Regions from separate parts of the Homo sapiens genome. Here region 1 is linked to region 2. The links are contacts of gene promoters, found by promoter capture Hi-C in human tissues and cell types (Jung and others, 2019). All regions are on one chromosome and are shown on one strand. The core of a region is centred on a gene start or on the middle of the fragment in contact, and the rest is flanking DNA. Distances in the headings are between cores, read along the strand shown.

Region 1 (5,342 bases), core at 1,441-3,940, 140 kb after region 2:
CACCCAGACTGGAGTGCAATGGCACAATCTTGGCTCACTGCAATCTCTGCTTCCTGGGTTCAAGCGATTCTCCTGTCTCAGCCTCCCAAGTGGCAAGGATTACAGGTGCCCGCCCCCAAGTCCAGCTAATTTTTGTTGTTACTGTTGTATTTTTAGTAGAGACGGGGTTTCACTGTGTTGACCAGGCTGGTCTAGAACTCTTGACCTGAAGTGATCCACCCACCTCGGCCTCCCAAAGTGCTGGGATTACAGGCATGAGCCACCATGCCCGGCCGATAATATGCATTTTTTTTTTTTTTTAGACAAAGTCTCCCTCTGTTGCCCAGGCTGGAGTGCAATGGCTCGATCTCGGCTCACTGCAACCTCCACCTCCCGAATTCAAGCGATTCTACTGCCTCAGCCTCCTGAGTAGCTGGGATTACAGGCGCACGCCACCATGCCCGGCTTATTTTGGTATTTTTAGTAGAGACAGGATTTCATCATGTTGGTCAGGCTGGTCTCGAACTCCTGACCTCATGATTCACCCGCCTCGGCCTCCCAAAGTGCTGGGATTACAGGCGTGAGCCATCGTGCCCGTCCTGATACTATGTATTCTTAATTCCAGTAAATATCTTGCAGAATGGCTATTCCAATTTATCCTCCCATCAGCAGCTTCTCCCACAACCTTGGCAGCAATTGACTTCCTCTTAATGTTTGTCAATTGGATGGGTGTAAACAGATGGCTCACTCGTGTTTGATTTCTCTAGTTAGTCACTAGTGATTGTAAACATGTCTTCATATGCACATTAGAACCCCAGGCTTCCTCATCTGTGAACTGCTTGTTTATACCTGATGCCACTTTTCCAATAGGTTTCCTGTGTATTTCTTCATCTTGGTCTCCTTCTGTGTTGAATGTCTTCCATTTGTCCTTCCAGATCCACACTCTATCCTTCTCCATGTTGTTCTGTGGCCTGGGAGGCTGAGCTGTATGACTGCATCAAATCGCTCCCTTGCCATCTGGCTTCCAGCCCTCTTCCAGGAAGAGAGGGAAGTGAGGATATTAACTCCCCGGCCCCTCCCTGTAGAGTGGCTGTGGGTTAGCTGCCCCCTGCAACTGAGTATCACAGCTCCTGTTGGGAGGCCCTCTCCCTGCGGTCCTGGAGGTGGTAACAGCTCCCCACTCTGGGATGCCTAGGTTCTTGCTCCATCTTGTGGCTTCCCTAAGCCTGTTCACACCTTTGCAGAGAGTCCCTATATTATGAAATCTTGCACTTACCCATTTTTGGGTGTGCCATCTGTTGCTTGCTGGGAGCCTACCTGATACATTGCTGTTGAACTGAAATTTATCATTTTCATGCAATTTCACAAATTTTTTTTGGCTTTTTGGAATGTGCTTCGGAGGCCTTATTTAACAAGCTCTTCAGCCGGGCGCGATGGCTCACACCTGTAATCCCAGCACTTTGGGAGGCCAAGGTGGGTGGATCATGAGGTCAGGAGATGGAGACCAGCCTGGCCAACAGGGTGAAACCCCGTCTCTACTAAAATTCGAAAAATTAGCTGGGCGTGGTGGCGCATGCCTGTATTCCCAGCTACTCAGGAGGCTAAGAAGGGGAATTGCTTGAACCTGGGAGGCAGAGGTTGCAGTGAGCCAAGATCACGCCACTGCTCTCCAGCCTGACGACAGAGCAAGACTCTGTCTCAAAAAAAAAAAAAAGAAGAAGAAGAAACCCTTCTATACTCTTAGTAGTATAGATTTTTCTTTCTTTCTTTTTTCCTACTAGTTCTGTAATTTTATGTTATATGTTTAGGTCTTCAATCTATCCAACATCCACCTTTGCCTGTGATGTTAGGTATGAATCCAGTTTTACTTATCTTCATAGAGTGAGCCAGTTTTCCCAATAATGTCTTTCTTCTACCAATTTGAGATGTTACCTTTATTGTATATTAAGTTCCCATGTAGGCACAGTTCTGTCTCTCGGCTCTTTATTCTATAACATTGGTTTATCCGTCTATTCTTGTATCATTACTGTGCTATTTTTATTACTATGGCTTTGTAATATATTTTAAAGTCTAATAAGGCTAGTTCCCCCTTCCTCCAATTTCTCCTTTTTTTCCCATATTGACTTTTATCTTGCCACATATATTTTTTTTAAAGTTGTTGCATTGCTTTTAAAAATCCAATTGAGGTCGGGCGCAGTGGCTCACTCCTCTAATCCCAGCACTTTGGGAGTTTGAGGCAGGTGGATCACTTGAGGTCAGGAGTTCAAGACCAGTCTGGCCAACACGGTGAAACCCCATCTCTACTAAAAATACAAAAATTAGCTGGACGTGGTGGCGGGCACCTGTACTCCCAGCTACTTGAGAGGCTGAGGCAGGAGAATCGCTTGAACCTGGAGGCGGAGGTTGCAGTGAGGTGAGATTACACCATTGTACTCCCACCTGGGTGACAGAGGGAGAATCCATCTCAAAAAGAAAATCAATTGAAATTTTATTTTTATTGCGTTGAATGTATATGTTAATTTGGAAAGAATTTAAGTTTCTTCTTGTATGTTCTTCATGTGTTATTGTGGTGATAGACTAATACACCTGCCGAAGCCTCTTATTAGGTCGAATTGTTTGTTTGTTTGTTGATGGTGTTGATTTTCTGTATAGGTGAGCATATTGTTTTATCTCTTCCTTTCCAATTCTTACAACTTTTAATGTCTTTTTCTGTCTTGTGCAGTTTGGCTACCATGCCCAGGATGATGCTGAACAGCAATAATAGCACTATAACGGAGGCTTCTAATTACCCCTAATACCAATTATCCCCTTCTTGCTACACCAGAGGTCCAGAAACATCTCCTATAAAGGGCCAGATAGCAAGTATTTTAGGCTTACCAGGTCATACAGTCTTTATCATAACTACTCAATTCTGCTGTTGCTGTGGTCATAAATGACATGTAAACAAACAGGCATGGCTGTGTTCCGATAAAACTTTATTTACAGGCCGGGATCCGTGGCTCATTCCTGTAACCCAGCACTTTGGAGGCGAAGGCGGGTAGATCACTTGAGCACAGGAGTTCAAGACCAGCCTGAGCAACATGGTGAAACCCCGTCTCTACAAAAAAATACAAAAATTAGCAGGGTATGGTGGCTTGCGCCTGTAATCCCAGCTACTTGGGAGGCTGAGGCAAGAGGATCACTTGAGCCTGGAAGGCAGAGGCTGCAGTGAGTCAAGATCCAGAGGCTGCAGTGAGTCAAGATCACGCCGCTGCACTCCAGCCTGGGCGACAGAGCCAGACCTTGTTGCAAAAAAAAAAAAAAAAAAAAAAAAAAAAAACTGGCCAGGTGTGGTGGCTCACACCTGTAATCCCAACACTTTGGGAGGCTGAGATGGGCAGATCACCTGAGGCCAGGAGTTCGAGAACAGTCTGGCGAACATGGTGAAACCCCGTCTGTACTAAAAAAAAAAAAAAAAGAAAAAATACAAAACATTAGCCGGGCATAGTGGTGCACGTCTGTAATCCCAGCTACTTGGGAGGCTGAGGCACGAGAACTGCTTGAACCTGAGAGGTAGAGGTTACAGTGAGCCGAGATTGTGCCATTGCACTTCAACCTGGGCAACGGAGAGAGACTCCGTCTCAGAAAAAAAAAAAAAAATAGAAAAAGAAAGCTTTATTTACAGAAGCAGGTGAGGGCCAAAGTTTACTGACTCCTTCTCTACAAAATAGAATCCTGTGTTTTTAGCAAGAATGTGGCCTCATGGAATAAAGTTCATTTCTCAGCCCCATTTGCAGCTATCTGTGGCCCTGGGACTAATTCTGATCAAAGAGATATAAAGTGAAGTGATGGAAGTGTCTGCATAGACAGAGAGAGAATGCGCCATTCTCCTTCCCTTTTCCCCTTTCTCTTGTCCGGAATGTGTCATAACAGGAGGGGCAGACATCTTGGAACATGTGATGGAAGCCACAGATTGAAACGATGGAGCAACAACGTAGAAACAGCTAGAGTCCAGAAAGATTTCATCATAAATCAGAGCTGAACTTTTGCTGAGTGTTTTTTCTGCATTGTGTAATTGTTTTCTTTTGTACACATTTAATCTATTTTTCTGTACTCTCTAAATCTATTATATTAACAGATTTTTCTTATGTTAAATCATCTTTGAATTCTTGGCATCTATACTACTTGAACATGTTACCTTTTTTATTTTTTATTTTTTGTTTTTTGTTTTTGTTCTTGTTTTTTGTTTTTGAGATGAGTCTGGCTCTATCGCCCAGGCTGGAGTGCAGTGGCGCGATCTCGGCTCACTGCAAGCTCTGCCTCCCGGGTTCACGCCATTCTCCTGCCTCAGCCTCCTGAGTAGCTGGGACTACAGGCACCCGCCACCACACCCGGCTAATTTTTTGTATTTTTAGTAGAGACGGGGTTTCACCATGTTAGCCAGGATGGTCTCAATCTCCTGACCTCATTATCTTCCCACCTCGGCCTCTCAAAGTGCTGGGATTACAGGCGTGAGCCACCACACCTGGCCATGTTATCTTTTTTAATGCTGCATTTGATTTGATAGGCTAATATCTGATAAAAGAATTTTAGGCCGGGCATGGTGTCTCGTGCCTGTAATCCCAATACTTGAGGGCGGATCCAAGCAGGCGGATCACTTGAGGCCAGGAGTTCGAGACCAGCTTGGCCAACATGGCAAAACCCCATCTCTACTAAAAACACAAAAATTGGCTGAGCATGGTGGCTCATGCCTGCATTCCCAGCACTTTGGGAGGCCGAGGCGGGTGGATCATAAGGTCAGGAGTTCAAGACCAGTGTAGGGAGACCCCCTAAAACTATTGCTATGGAATAAAGATGAAATGCTCCTAATTATTGTAAATACAAAATTGCATGCAGAATTGTGTAAAGACAATGCCAGGTTGGGCTGCCAGAATGAGCCAACAGCGCATGATGTGCTTCCCCCTGCAGAAAGCCTATAAACGGACATGCAGTCAGGGAGGTTTCATATCTCCCAGATTCCTATCCCAGAAAAGCAGATGTTCATAGCTCTGGGAGTGGAATGCGACCCTTGTGGAGAGCCTATAAACGGACGCATGAAGGGCACCTGTTCATATGGATAAGGTAGGGTTATAAATGCCCTTATCTTGCCACGGCTCTTCTAGGCCTCTTTAGGGTTAAGGCATACTCCCTTCTGAGAATTTTTGGTCTAACTGGTTGTCTAGCTTCACATCCTGTTTCTATGGATTGTTTGTAACCAGCTTTTGCTGCAACTGTTACTGCTGATTAATATCTTGCTAATCATAGGTTAGGGATAGACTGTGTTTCTGTTTTAAGGCTCTGTTAGAAATTGCTGACGCACACACTATATTGTATATTCTTATCTC
Region 2 (4,930 bases), core at 405-2,904:
CCTCATCGTCCTGAATTTCCCAGTTCCCGGTTTCTCAGCTGTTCTTTCATGCATTCAAATAAAGACACACTCCGGTCTGAAGGGGAGGGCCCCGGGCCTGATATCCAGCCCCGTGGACCATGGTCGGCCATTCCTGGCCAACTGTACACTCTCCCCAGCCCAAATCCGGGGAGCTTCTGCCTTGCAGCTGGATTCAGCTCTAGCACCCCTTCTCCAAATGAGCTTTGCCTTGCCTGCCCGCAATGTCTCCCGAAACAAAATATGAGGGTGTGATCCATGCCCATCTCTCAGATCAGGGACTTCAAATTAGGGTGGTTAAGCCCCCTCCTGCCCTCTCTCCCTCCTCCTTGTTTTCCCTTCTCGTTTACCCCACCCAATTTTAATGTTCAATTAAAAGTCACCTCCAAAGACATCTGGGTAGCAGTGTCTAGCTTAATTCGAAAAGAAAACCCGGAGTTCCCAGGCTCAGGTCCCGCTTCTTGTCCCACCCATTCCCCTGGCTCCTAAAGCCCGCGATTTCTCACCTCGGGTAGGAACCCCAGCCTGAGGGGAAAGTCCCCTCGGTCTCCTAACTCTAGCTCCCTCCGCCCAGCCCTAGTCCCCTCCTAGGAGACAGAGGTGCAAAATAAACCCGCGCAAAGGGGAGGAGGCTAAAGGTTTCAGCCGCCCAGACCAAATGGATCCTGCGCCCGGGTCTGAGCGCACCCCAGGCCGGGTGGAGACGAGGGGCGAGGCGAGGCCAGTGCTCGGCCGCCCCCTCGTGGAAGGAGCCGCACATTGCCGAGCCTTGCCTACTTGCCGCGCTGGACCCCGGCGTCCCGCCAGCCTCCAAGCGTAGCCGACGGGCGGGTGCCCGAGGCCCTCGTGAGCTGGGATTGGGGGAAAGCAAGCGGGCTTTGGGCGGGAGTCCATCTCTCTGGATCCCTACAAGGACCCAGAAGAGAGTCGGGAGCGAGAGAGGCCGGACGCCTAGGTCTCCCGAGCGTCTCTCGCCCCTCCACCCCCACCTCGGGGCTTTCCCCACCTCCTCGAGGGGAAGCAGCTGGCGGAGCCGTCCGGTCGCAGGACAATGGAAGGAAACCAACTAGAAATCATATCCGCCCTCTCCGTACCCCGCCCGGCCAGAGCCCCCCTTTTTGTAGGCCCGGGTAGAGTAGCCTGTCATTCACACCACACCCTCCCCGTCTGAGACCCTACGGGAGCCCACTGTCGTCTGCCCAAACCTGCTGTCTCGTTGGGCTCCCCCTTTTCTCCCTTAACACAGTACAAGAGAGGGAGAGGGGGTTGCCGTATGCACTTTGTCCTGCAGCAAAGGTTGGCTCCTGGCAAACCCTCCCAAAAGCCAACACACCAATTTTCACTGGCCCAGGCCTTCCGACGACTCAGACTCCCGTATTGCCAACCTCGATATCCCTAACCTCCTCCCCAATTCCAATATCCCCGTCCTCGTGTCCACTTGCAGTGACCCAAGACCCCCTACGTTACGACCACCCCTTGTTTCTGAGGTCCCGCCCTCGAGACGGAGACCCCGCCCTGGACTCGCCATCTGGAGAGCGAGGGAGGAAGGAAGGATACAGACCCAGGCGTTCACCCCACCTCCACCCCCGCCCCCGACATCCCGGCCAGATAAAGGAGCCGAGGCCAAGAGGGGAGAGAGACCCCGCCCCCCTTAAGAAGAGAAGCCGCGGCCCCTGCAGGACGGGGGTAAGAACAAGAGACTGAGGGAGCCAGACTCCTGGGTCCCCCAAGAGGGTAGGAGCTTGTGTGGAGCTTGCCATCAGCGAGCCTGAGTCCCAGAAATTGGGCTAAACTAGGGATTGGGGACTAGATAGGAGTCGCAGAATTCCGTAGTTCGGGGAAGGGAGCCTCGGCTGGGATTTGGAGGTGTGTGGACGGCAGGCCGTGAGATCTCGAGGCAGGGTTGGACACCTGAGACACAGGCGCGCAGAGGGGAGTGGCGGTGCTGGAGGGGCACTGGGGGTCGAACCCAGGGCGATGGGCGCGGGATTCCCCACGCTCGCCAACGACGCCGCGGTGTGGAACCTTCAACTGGCTCCAAGCGCTGTGGGATCTGGAAGAGGCAAGGGAGCGAGGGTGTCGTAGAGGGCAGAATGAACAAGAAGAATTAGGAGGGAGGCTGCGTGTGCCGGGGCTAGGGGCTGGAAGTCCTGGCTCTAGTTGCACCTCGGAAGGAAAAGGCAAACAGAGGAGGGAAGGCGTCTTAGGACTGCCTGGATCCAGAGCACTTTCCACGGCCTCTACAGGCCTGTGTCGCTATGGGTTCCCCCGCCGCCCCGGAGGGAGCGCTGGGCTACGTCCGCGAGTTCACTCGCCACTCCTCCGACGTGCTGGGCAACCTCAACGAGCTGCGCCTGCGCGGGATCCTCACTGACGTCACGCTGCTGGTTGGCGGGCAACCCCTCAGAGCACACAAGGCAGTTCTCATCGCCTGCAGGTTCGAGGGGTGGGGCCTGGGGCGGGGCCAAATGGGAAAGGGGTGGGACCACAGGGCCGTTGAGAGGGAATCCGAAGCCAAGTCTTTCAGAAGCAGGAGGCGGAGCGTCCCAGAATTGGGGGCGGGGTGATAGTGAGGAGGCGGGACTTTTTCAGGGGGCGGGGCTTCCTGAAGCTGCGCATGTCTCCCTTGGTTCCCCAGCCCCCAAAGGACTTATCTGCTCTCTCTCTAGTGGCTTCTTCTATTCAATTTTCCGGGGCCGTGCGGGAGTCGGGGTGGACGTGCTCTCTCTGCCCGGGGGTCCCGAAGCGAGAGGCTTCGCCCCTCTATTGGACTTCATGTACACTTCGCGCCTGCGCCTCTCTCCAGCCACTGCACCAGCAGTCCTAGCGGCCGCCACCTATTTGCAGATGGAGCACGTGGTCCAGGCATGCCACCGCTTCATCCAGGCCAGGTGAGGGACCCTGGCTCGGCGTTCTCTGTGGGTGAGGTGTTAAGGGCAAAGGCAGAGTTTAGGAAATGGCACTAACGTTCATCACACTTTCCCCAGCTATGAACCTCTGGGCATCTCCCTGCGCCCCCTGGAAGCAGAACCCCCAACACCCCCAACGGCCCCTCCACCAGGTAGTCCCAGGCGCTCCGAAGGACACCCAGACCCACCTACTGAATCTCGAAGCTGCAGTCAAGGCCCCCCCAGTCCAGCCAGCCCTGACCCCAAGGCCTGCAACTGGAAAAAGTACAAGTACATCGTGCTAAACTCTCAGGCCTCCCAAGCAGGGAGCCTGGTCGGGGAGAGAAGTTCTGGTCAACCTTGCCCCCAAGCCAGGCTCCCCAGTGGAGACGAGGCCTCCAGCAGCAGCAGCAGCAGCAGCAGCAGCAGTGAAGAAGGACCCATTCCTGGTCCCCAGAGCAGGTACAGAGTCTAGAACCTCAAGAATTTGTCAGAGCTGGCCTCAGCTAGAAGACAGAGTCATTGGGCCTTGATGGTCAGGAGGAAGGGAGATAGGTGGTGGGTTTCAGAGACACTAGCTCACCTTAAGGAGCTGGCCAGAGACCAGGTTTATTCAGCAGGGTGGCACTTGGGCAGTACAATGGATGTGGCTCATTGGTCAACAATATTGGCTCACCCTGAGAGGGCAGGCCTTTGGCTCCAAATTTCCCAGGAGAGAACCCCCACCCCTCAACCGTACAATCTCTTTTAACCCTTTCCTTGCCATCTGCCTAGGCTCTCTCCAACTGCTGCCACTGTGCAGTTCAAATGTGGGGCTCCAGCCAGTACCCCCTACCTCCTCACATCCCAGGCTCAAGACACCTCTGGATCACCCTCTGAACGGGCTCGTCCACTACCGGGTAAGAGCCCCTCTTTCTTGGCTTTTCTCCCGTGACTGCTCCAGGCAAGTTTGTGCCAAAAACTCTCCCAGAAAGGCCTATTCCAATGGTTCCTAAACTTTATTACAAATTAGAATCACCTAGGAAGCTTTTAAACTCCCACTGCCCAGGTCACACTCCATAGATTAAAATATCTGGACATGGGACGAGTCATCAGTATTTTTCTAAAGCTCTCCCAGTGCTTCCAATGAGCAGCAAAGTTTGAGAATTTCTGGCCTATCCCCTTTCAGAGCTGAATGGTCAGCCCAAAGCTTGTCAGGGCCTCTCTGGCAGGCTGTCATTCAGAGTGGTGCAAGTGAGGAGGAGATTTTAGCCAAGCATGGTGGCTCATGCCTGTAATGCCAGCACTTTGGGAGGCCAGTGCAGGAGGATCACTTGAATCCAAGAGCTCAAGGCCAGCCTGGGCAACATAGTCAGATGTGGTCTCTACAAAAAATAAAAATGAAAATTAGCCGGGCACGGTGGTGCACACCTGTAGTCCCAGCTACTCAGGAAGCTAAAGTGGAAGGATCGTCTGAACCCGGGAGGTGGAGATTGCAGTGAGCCGAGATCACACCACTGCACTCCAGCATAGGCAACACAGCAAGACTCTGTCTCAAAAAAAAAAAAAAAAAAAAAAACAGGAGGAGAAACAAAACTCCTCCCACTAGCAGGGGCCTCCACCTACCACCACTGCTTTTATTTTATTTATTTATTTTTTTGAGACGGAGTCTCACTCTGTGGCCAGGCTGAAGTGCAGTGCCGCAATCTCGGTTCACTACAACCTCCACATCCCAGGTTCAAGCGATTCTCCTGCCTCAGCTTCCCGAGTAGCTGGGACTACAGGCACGTGCCACCACACCCAGCTACTTTTTGTATTTTTAGTAGAGACGAGGTTTCACCATGTTGGCCAGGATGGTCTCCATCTCTTGACCTTGTGATCCGACCGCCTCGGCCTCCCAAAGTGCTGGGATTACAGTCGTGAGCCACCGTACCTGGCCCCCACCACTGCTATTGAAGAGGAGATTAGCTGAGTACTCGAGTCAGACAGATGTGCAGTCAGATCTGGCTCATCTTACTATCTTCTTACTTGGCCTTGAGCAAGTC

The links. Contacts are between HindIII fragments. The study calls those that stand out against the background at their distance.
Region 1: a contact is called between a fragment that was not itself captured here and the fragment with the promoter of BCL6B in region 2, in 2 of the 25 tissues and cell types used here (bladder and heart right ventricle).

The regions. Positions count from the first base shown.
Region 1 is chr17:7,164,107-7,169,448 of GRCh38, forward strand. LOC124903911 (a long non-coding RNA gene) reads left to right here and starts at 4,963. Exons shown (of 2, transcript XR_007065601.1): 1 at 4,963-5,079. The HindIII fragment of the contact is 4,369 bases long and covers 507-4,875 here.
Region 2 is chr17:7,021,396-7,026,325 of GRCh38, forward strand. It overlaps BCL6B (BCL6B transcription repressor), which reads left to right and starts at 1,655. Exons shown (of 9, transcript NM_181844.4): 1 at 1,655-1,704; 2 at 2,265-2,455; 3 at 2,688-2,909; 4 at 3,006-3,368; 5 at 3,681-3,805. The coding sequence starts at 2,277. RefSeq lists a silencer at 609-748. The HindIII fragment of the contact is 11,810 bases long and covers 1-4,930 here.